2 separate regions of the Homo sapiens genome follow, and region 1 is linked to region 2. Evidence: promoter capture Hi-C in 16 types of primary human blood cells and fetal thymus (Javierre and others, 2016). All regions are on one chromosome and are shown on one strand. The core of a region is centred on a gene start or on the middle of the fragment in contact, and the rest is flanking DNA. Distances in the headings are between cores, read along the strand shown.

Evidence for each region. The method cuts DNA at HindIII sites, captures the fragments that hold promoters and counts their contacts. A CHiCAGO score of 5 or more calls a contact.
Region 1: a contact is called between the fragment with the promoter of SOX18 here and the fragment with the promoter of PTK6 in region 2, in 11 of 17 cell types (endothelial precursors, erythroblasts, fetal thymus and 8 more). The highest score is 9.8, in endothelial precursors.

The regions. Positions count from the first base shown.
Region 1 is chr20:64,048,199-64,052,718 of GRCh38, reverse strand. It overlaps SOX18 (SRY-box transcription factor 18), which reads left to right and starts at 3,080. Exons shown (of 2, transcript NM_018419.3): 1 at 3,080-3,560; 2 at 3,757-4,520. The coding sequence starts at 3,203. RefSeq lists promoters at 2,940-3,200, 2,303-3,200, 2,095-3,203, an enhancer at 2,528-3,209 and a silencer at 3,341-3,390. The HindIII fragment of the contact is 12,409 bases long and covers 374-4,520 here.
Region 2 is chr20:63,534,836-63,539,119 of GRCh38, reverse strand. PTK6 (protein tyrosine kinase 6) reads left to right here and starts at 1,744. Exons shown (of 8, transcript NM_005975.4): 1 at 1,744-2,035; 2 at 4,061-4,182. The coding sequence starts at 1,806. It overlaps SRMS (src-related kinase lacking C-terminal regulatory tyrosine and N-terminal myristylation sites), which reads left to right. Exons shown (of 8, transcript NM_080823.4): 8 at 1-631. RefSeq lists silencers at 686-955, 1,286-1,435 and an enhancer at 1,556-1,645. The HindIII fragment of the contact is 2,955 bases long and covers 1-2,431 here.

The DNA of each region.
Region 1 (4,520 bases), core at 1,831-4,330, 510 kb before region 2:
GAGAGCCCCCTCCACCTGAAACTGCATCCAACAGGAACCCCCACCTTCACCCTTGAGGAGCAGGAGGGTCCAGGCCCTGCGGGACTCGGTAATTGGTCCCAGCCTCGCTGCTCTTGCAGCCGCAGGGGCTGGGCTGGTGGGATCCTGGGAGGTCTGTGCCCAGGCAGTGGCTGGGAGGTCCTGCCATCCCGGCCCAGAGCCGCGCCAAGCCAAGCTCCCACCCAGAGCCACGGAGGGGGACTACCCAGCATCCTTTGCGGACCTCACTCAGAGGCCGGGGTTCCTGTCCAAGCTGAGGGAGAGGGGCAGGTGGCAGGCAGGAGGACAGTGTCCACTCAGTGCCCAGGCCAGCCCCACCCTTGTAGAGAAAGCTTGCCCCCAAACTCTGCCTTTCTGACTGGGGCTTGGGGGCTACAGATAGGCTCCTTCCCAAGGGTGGGCCATAGCCCACCTAGTCCAGGACAGACTGAGGTGGGGTTCCAGAGGCAGAGGAATGCCCCTAGACTCATGAACTGCCTGCCCTCTTTTGGAGAATGCTGGGGCCCAAGCTCAGTGGCCAGAGAAGCCTTGGGGACCCTCCAAACTTCACGGAGCAGGACCCCTGGTCCTGGACCTATTATGGGTCCTCATCTCTTCCTGGGAACGTCCAGCTTGCCTGGCTCTCAAGGCCCTGGGCAGCCTCCAGCACTAGAGTCCCCCTCACCCCACACCCAGGCAGACAGACAGACACAGGCCACACACAGATGCACAGACACACATCGGATGCCCCTCCCTCAGCACAGCTGGCCACACCCACACCATCCCCTCTACAGCCCTGGCAAGTCCCCCCAGCCCTGCGGCTCCAGATCACGCCACCCTGGCTGTGGTCCCTACCCCCACTTTGTCCCATCTGGACACTGGGCCAGGGCTGCCAGCCTCCTCCCTGCCACGCAGAGGGAGAGGAGCACCTCAGGAGGCTCCCCGCCCAGCCCCGACTCACAGGACATGACAGCCGGACACCTGAGTCCACAGCCCAGCCAAGAGGGTGGGTCACTGGCTGGCGCCAGGCAAGGCGGCTGCTGGTGGGTGTTGTGGGGGACGTGGAGGCGATGAGGTCATGCCGGACACTGCCTGCCACTATGTTTAGAGCAGCTCCAGTGACTCTGGGCTCTCGGGGGTGGCAGAGGACCAAGCAGGGCCCCCAGGGAACTGCAAATCCTTCCCCACGTGTGAGGGCTACTGCAGAGGACCCCGAGGACCTCTTTCCCAGGCCGCAGTGACCAGCCACTGCCCAGGCTGAGCCAGGCCCTGGTGACCCCTGACTGCAACCCTAAGGTTGTGAGTAGAGAGAGCTTCCGCCAAGTGGTAGCCCTTTGGGGTCTTCGCACGGCTCCCCACCCCCCCTGCACCCTCCTGCCAGCTGCCCAGGAGGCCCACCCACACTGAGACTCGGCCAAGGGTCCAGCCACCCATACTGAGATTAAAGGAGGACTAGCAGCATCCGGCAGAGGCCTGTGAGCCCCTCCATCCCTGTGGCCACAACCCTGCCTGCCTCCCCAGAAAAGCCAGGGGCCGCACCTCCTGGTGCCCCACGGGCCCCCCATTAGCCAGCACTGGCTCAGTGTCTGTGAACGAGGTGCTAGGCCCGTGGGGCAAACTGGAGGGACGGGAGATCTGGAGACCAGACTGGGAGACCCAGCCCCGTATGCTGGGACGATGGGCGTCGAGACAGACTGTGATGTGGGGCTTTGGGGAGGGCTGGACACCGACCGCGACAGCCCTCGGTGGGAGTGCCCCTGTGGGGGTGCTGGCCTCAGGGCAGGAGTGCCCCTGGGGACAGTTCAGGAACAGCCTCTAAGGGGCACTGCAAGGCCCACGTGGGGCCCACCCCATTCATAACACAGGCTGGATGTGGCCTAGCGAGGCTGGCAGGGACAGAGAACCAAGAGCTTCTGGCCACACAGGCTCAGGGTCACAAGACCTGTGGCCTCTACCCATGGGGCTCCCGGCATAGTGTGGCGGGGGGAGCTGGGGAGCCTCCAGGCTATGAGGAGATGTGCCGCGAGGTGGCGAGATTCTGACCCTGCCTGGAGGGCTGCTGGGGACACCCAACCCTTCTCCAGTAGAACCATGCGTGGCAGTGGGAGGGGAGGACCTCCAGAGGGAGACCCTCAGCTCTGGAGCCCAGATCCCCTCCTGATGGAGTAGGAAGGGGACAGTGAAAATTCAGGAAGCTGGACGCTCCTCCGGAACCCGCCCCCGCCCAGGTCAGAGGGTCCAGGGAGGGGCCAGTGGGAAGGACCCAGGTAGGCCCTGCCTCTTGCTGCAGCGGTGGCCTGGGCTGGGCAGGGGAGCCAGCAAGCCACTGAGGGTCCCAGCCCCTTCCCCAAGGGCCCTTGGGGGGCAGGGAGGACGCCACAGCCTCTGCGTCCCTGCTCCCCCTTCTCTTTGTGGGCTCCGTCCAGGGCCTCTGCTCTCTCCCTCCCTGTGTCAGCTTTGCCTTGTGCCAGAGTTGGTTTGGGAGTGAGGACAGAAGACCATCTTGTCCCATAAAGGCACTCAAAGTCCCTGGTGCTGACGGTTACACATGGGTGTAGAGTTTCCAGCATGGGCGCCCCTGGGGACTCAGAGCGCCTCCCCAAAGACGGGGCCTTTTCTGAAGGCGCTGCACTCCAGGAAGGACTTACCGGCTGTTGGGAAGGCAGCCTCCCCAGAACTTGGTGTGAAAAAGGGCCCTCTCCTCCCCATGGAGCCTCCCAGCGGGGGGCGGGGAACGGCAACCAGCGGGACACTGCCGCCCTCCCCCAGTTACTGCCCGGGGGTCCGACTCCGTGGGTGGGTGGCAGCTCGCCTCCGAAAGTCTGGCAGCACCGGCCCTCATCAGCAGCCCTTTCTTTCCCACCCGGGGGGTCTCTCCTTCTGAGAGGTCGCGGGGGAGGTGGGGGGGCTGTGCGCGGGGGAGGCCTCAGCGGAATCCCGCCCGGCCTGAGAAGAAAGGGAGCCCCCGGGGAGGAGGCGGCCCCGACCCGCCCCCGCCCGCCCGCCCCGCCGCCGATTGGCCCTGAGCCGCTATATCTGGGCGCCCGCCCGGCCCGAGGCCACCGCCGTCCCCACCGCCATCCGCCCTCCCGGCCTGGCCTGCCCTTGCGCCCGGCTCCCCAGTGCCCGCCGCCCGCCCGCCGCGCTCCCGCGCTCCGTTCCGCCCAGGCCGCGCCCAGCTGGAATGCAGAGATCGCCGCCCGGCTACGGCGCACAGGACGACCCGCCCGCCCGCCGCGACTGTGCATGGGCCCCGGGACACGGGGCCGCCGCTGACACGCGCGGCCTCGCCGCCGGCCCCGCCGCCCTCGCCGCGCCCGCCGCGCCCGCCTCGCCGCCCAGCCCGCAGCGCAGTCCCCCGCGCAGCCCCGAGCCGGGGCGCTATGGCCTCAGCCCGGCCGGCCGCGGGGAACGCCAGGCGGCAGACGAGTCGCGCATCCGGCGGCCCATGAACGCCTTCATGGTGTGGGCAAAGGACGAGCGCAAGCGGCTGGCTCAGCAGAACCCGGACCTGCACAACGCGGTGCTCAGCAAGATGCTGGGTGAGCGGCGGGAGGGCGGCAGAGAAGGGGGAGAGGGCGGGGGGGGCTCGGGCCGGGGTGGGGCGGGGGGGGCAGGGGTCCCGGGCCGCGGGGTGCGGGGGCTGCGCCAAACCCTCGCGGGGCGTCCCGGGCGCACGGAGGGCTCGGCGCCCACCCGCCCGACGGCGTTCCACTCACTGGCGCCCACGGCCCGCAGGCAAAGCGTGGAAGGAGCTGAACGCGGCGGAGAAGCGGCCCTTCGTGGAGGAAGCCGAACGGCTGCGCGTGCAGCACTTGCGCGACCACCCCAACTACAAGTACCGGCCGCGCCGCAAGAAGCAGGCGCGCAAGGCCCGGCGGCTGGAGCCCGGCCTCCTGCTCCCGGGATTAGCGCCCCCGCAGCCACCGCCCGAGCCTTTCCCCGCGGCGTCTGGCTCGGCTCGCGCCTTCCGCGAGCTGCCCCCGCTGGGCGCCGAGTTCGACGGCCTGGGGCTGCCCACGCCCGAGCGCTCGCCTCTGGACGGCCTGGAGCCCGGCGAGGCTGCCTTCTTCCCACCGCCCGCGGCGCCCGAGGACTGCGCGCTGCGGCCCTTCCGCGCGCCCTACGCGCCCACCGAGTTGTCGCGGGACCCCGGCGGTTGCTACGGGGCTCCCCTGGCGGAGGCGCTCAGGACCGCGCCCCCCGCGGCGCCGCTCGCTGGCCTGTACTACGGCACCCTGGGCACGCCCGGCCCGTACCCCGGCCCGCTGTCGCCGCCGCCCGAGGCCCCGCCGCTGGAGAGCGCCGAGCCGCTGGGGCCCGCCGCCGATCTGTGGGCCGACGTGGACCTCACCGAGTTCGACCAGTACCTCAACTGCAGCCGGACTCGGCCCGACGCCCCCGGGCTCCCGTACCACGTGGCACTGGCCAAACTGGGCCCGCGCGCCATGTCCTGCCCAGAGGAGAGCAGCCTGATCTCCGCGCTGTCGGACGCCAGCAGC
Region 2 (4,284 bases), core at 495-2,994:
GGTACCTGGGCCCACTGAGGCCTTGAGCTGAGCTTCCAGTTCTGGCAGGTCCCCAGCACAGCAGCCTGGGGGCTCCTCTGGCACAGAAGGCCTCGCCCTCTGTGCTCTCTGCAGCCGCCACTGGGATTAAGGGGACCAGGTGTGTCTGTGGCACCTGTGCCCTCCTAGGCATCTCGCCAGCCACCAGCTGAACAGGTTTGGTGCTCCTGGGTATCTGGGAGGGGCTGGGGACGTTCCTGCCTCCTGGTGTGGCTTAGACTGAAAGTCCTGCACGTCCGAACTCAGGGATACTCGAGGCTTCCTGGACATAGACTCACGGGCCCAGAGTCTGGCCGGGCTCTGAGGGACGCTGCCCGGCCAGGTGCCCCGGCACCCTCCTTCCGCATTCCCCACCCCCCACCCCTCCCCCTGCATCCTCCCCAACCGACCCCAGACAGAGCTGGGAGGGCCTGAGGGACACTGCCCAGGCCGGCACCCCGCTGCCCCTCCCCACCTTGGTCAGCGCTGAGCTGGGCTGCCCAGAAATCTATGAGCCTGTTAAATAATCCAGATTATTGTTCTTAATCTCAAAACAATGAGTGGAAGGTGCCATTATTTCTCTTTGCAATAAAAATAAAAGTTGAAATACGCAGTTTAGGGACTTTCCTTACCACCCCTTGCAGACTTTGAATTTCCCTTCCCGCCCCTTCCTGCCCCCTTGTGGCTGCCAGTCCAGGTCCCTGGGTTGGAGCTCCCGGGTGGACACAGTAGGGTCAGTGGGAGGGTGGGGCGGGGAGGGGCCTCCAGGGAGGGGGTGTCCCGAGTCTCAGGGGCTGGGGGGCAGGCGGCCGTCGGGTGCAGGTGGGGGTCACGGCAGGGCTCACTCAGGCATGAGTCGGGAGAAGGGAGGCCAGCTGGAAGGGGGCAGGGGTCCTGCGGGCTGGACAGGAGGAGGCAGAGGCTGGAGGCGGGAGGGGCTGCCTGGGAGGGACCTGTGGCCTTGGGCCCCAGCGCCATGGGCGCTTCCAGGCCGCACTCACGGTCCTTGCCTGCCCCCTGGCGTCCGTGTGGAGGAAGGCAGTGCCCGTTTCTTCAGCCGTGGGTGCCCCTGGCTCTGCCTCCCCGGGGATCCCCCAAAACCCTCGGGCCCTCCTCTTCCGGGAAGTCCTCCGGGCCGACCCACACAGCTGTCGCTGCCCTGATTCCACTCCCTCTTCCCTGCTTGGCCCTTACCCGAGGGCGGGCCTGCCCATGAGGCCGCTCTCAGGACGCCTGCCCACAGCAGCTCCTGACATTGGGCCCTGTGCTCAGGGGTGGAGTCTGGGGCTGGGTGAGGGCACCGACGGGTGGAGGGGAAGCTGCCGGAAGCGGGGAGAGAGGCGGCCCCCACCTGTGCCCCCGCAGCTCTGAGGGTTGGGAAGGCAGCGCCTGCAGCCCTCACCTTCCTGCCCTCAGGCTGCGAGGCTTGTTCCCAGAGGGCCGTTGGCTTCCCTGAGTGCCTGAGTGTCCATAAGTTGGACCCCCAAGAAGCCCCAACCGGGAGGTCCTCCTCCCCCTCTCCTGCGCTCAGGCCGGCCCTGGCGGTGCTTGCCCAGTGGGTTCCCATAGTGCGGGCGCTAAGTGCTCAGATGGGCCCCAGTGGGCCTGAGGACTTGTGGGGCCGGCTGGGCCCTCAGGAGGAGCCGGGGTGCTCTGGAGCGCCTGTGGGTGCTGGGTGTGGCTGCTTCCCGGCCTGTCATGAGGAAGTGGGACGGCCCGCCTGCCACGCCCAGCTCTGGGTGCTCCAGCTGGGCCACAGCCTGGTCCTGCCGCTGCGCCCGCCCGCCATGGTGTCCCGGGACCAGGCTCACCTGGGCCCCAAGTATGTGGGCCTCTGGGACTTCAAGTCCCGGACGGACGAGGAGCTGAGCTTCCGCGCGGGGGACGTCTTCCACGTGGCCAGGAAGGAGGAGCAGTGGTGGTGGGCCACGCTGCTGGACGAGGCGGGTGGGGCCGTGGCCCAGGGCTATGTGCCCCACAACTACCTGGCCGAGAGGGAGACGGTGGAGTCGGAACCGTGCGTGTCCTAGGCTGCTGGGAGCTTTGGCACAGGCCACCCTCTAGGCACAGGGGAGGGACAGGGCTCTGGGCTGCTCAGGGAGGCCCAAGAAGGTGGGGACCCCGGTTCCATCTTCCTGCACCCCAAAGTCCAGGCTGGGCATCCCGCTTGATCCTCCCTGCAGGCCCCATGCGCTGGCGCCCAGGAGTGCCCAGGACTGTCCCTGCGGGAGTTGGAGCACGGGGGTCAGAGGGCACGGCCCCTGCCTTGGGCTCATCCTTGTCACAGCTCGGGGGTGGACGCTGCATTGCCGGGACCCAGGGAGGACAGAGGGTCCAGGGTGGACTTCTGGGGCCCGGTGGCCAGTGACAAGGTCTGTCGGAGCGTTCCAGGGCCTTTGGGGGAAACGAAGCTTGAAGCTTGCCCAGTTTCCAAAGTGCCGGAACCAGACACACGACCTAGTTAGGGGAGCGGGCCGGCTGCCGGGCAAACTTCCTGCCTGCTGTGCCCTGCGGGGAACCAGACAGCAGCTGGTGTGGCCTGGCCCTGGCTTCCACAGCTGCCCGGAGCTCAGGCTGAGGAGGGTCACGCTCCTGAGATCCCGCGTTTCTCATCAGTGATTGGGCACCCACTGTGTGTGTGCGTGAGTCACAGGCTGTGTAGGGTTAGCTCCCGGGGGACCCAAGCAACAAGCAGGGGAGGCTGTAAAGAGGCCGTCGGGCAGGGGCCCATGGTGGAGACCCCTCTATTACGTGCAGACCCACGACCTCGTTAGCAGGGTCACGCGCAGACCCACGACCTCGTTAGTGAGCAGGGGTGCAGGGGTGGGGTCTGGCCGGAGGCTGGTCAGCTCCCAGGTGCAAAGACCCTGAGTCCTGAGAACTCGCCCAGGTGAGAAGTGGGGAGGAGGCCAGGTGAGGAGGGGGTGGGAGGCCAGGTGGGGGGGGGAGCGGGAGGCTAGGTGGGGGGGGCTGGAGGCCAGGTGAGGGGGGGCGGGAGGCCAGGTGGGGGGGGCGGGAGACCAGGAGAGGAGGGGACGGGAGGCCAGGAGAGGAGGGGGCGGGAGGCCAGGAGAGGAGGGGGCGGGAGGCCAGGTGAGGAGGGGGCGGGAGGCCAGGTGAGGGGGGGGCGGGAGGCCAGGTGAGGGGGGTGCGGGAGGCCAGGTGAGGACGGGGTGGGAGGCCAGGTGAGGGGGGGGCGGGAGGCCAGGTGAGGAGGGGGCGGGAGGCCAGGTGAGGAGGGGGCGGGAGGCCAGGTGAGGGGGGGGGCGGGAGGCCAGGTGAGGAGGGGGCGGGAGGCCAGGTGAGGAGGGGGCGGGAGGCCAGGTGAGGGGGGGGGCGGGAGGCCAGGTGGTTGGAGGGGCAGGTGGGGCAGTGCTTCCAGGTGTGCGGAAGTGGAGGGGGTGGACCCCAGGGGCTCCATGCTGGGCCGTGGTCTTCTGTGTGGGGTTTGTGTTCCAGTGACCTGAGGGAGTCAGACACACAAAGGGCGCAGGTCACCTGGAGCTTCTGCAAGCTCCACCTGGAAGTCCACAGTCCAGGGCTGGCCCACACCCCGCAGCCGGGAGTTAGTGCGCGCGAGTGGCTGTGTGTGCGTGCGTGTGAGCGTGTGGGCAAGTGAGCACACATGCGCGTGTGTGTTCAGGTGTGCGGGTGAACTGTGCGCATGTGTGGGGGTTTGTGACTGTGTGTGTGTGAGCGTGCGTCACACATGGGTGTGTGCAGGCAGCTCTGGGCAGCCATCCTGCTCAGCTGCCCTCCCCAGCTCCACCCTAGGCTCTGACCCCTAGACTCGGGCCACTCAGGGCAGGGTGTGGTAGCGCCTGCCCCTGCCCCCGCCGGGTCCTCAGGGGCCTGTCCTGGCCTTTCGGGACATTCAGGGCGTCTGGGTCAGCGACAGCTCCTGAGAGCAGCTGTGGTCAGGGCTGGGAGCTTGAGGTGGCAGGCAAGGGCGGCTGGGGTTCCAGGCGGGCAGGCTGGGGCCAGCGTGGGGTCCACGTGGGGTGGGCCCAGGTCCGCGTGTTCTCAGACTCCTCCCCTGCAGGTGGTTCTTTGGCTGCATCTCCCGCTCGGAAGCTGTGCGTCGGCTGCAGGCCGAGGGCAACGCCACGGGCGCCTTCCTGATCAGGGTCAGCGAGAAGCCGAGTGCCGACTACGTCCTGTCGGGTGCGGCCCCGGCCTCCGAGCCTGTGCTTGCCTGCGGGGGCTCCTGGCTCTAAGCCCTCCCAGCCACGTGGTGAACCCGGCTCGCTCTGGCTGAGACGGGGG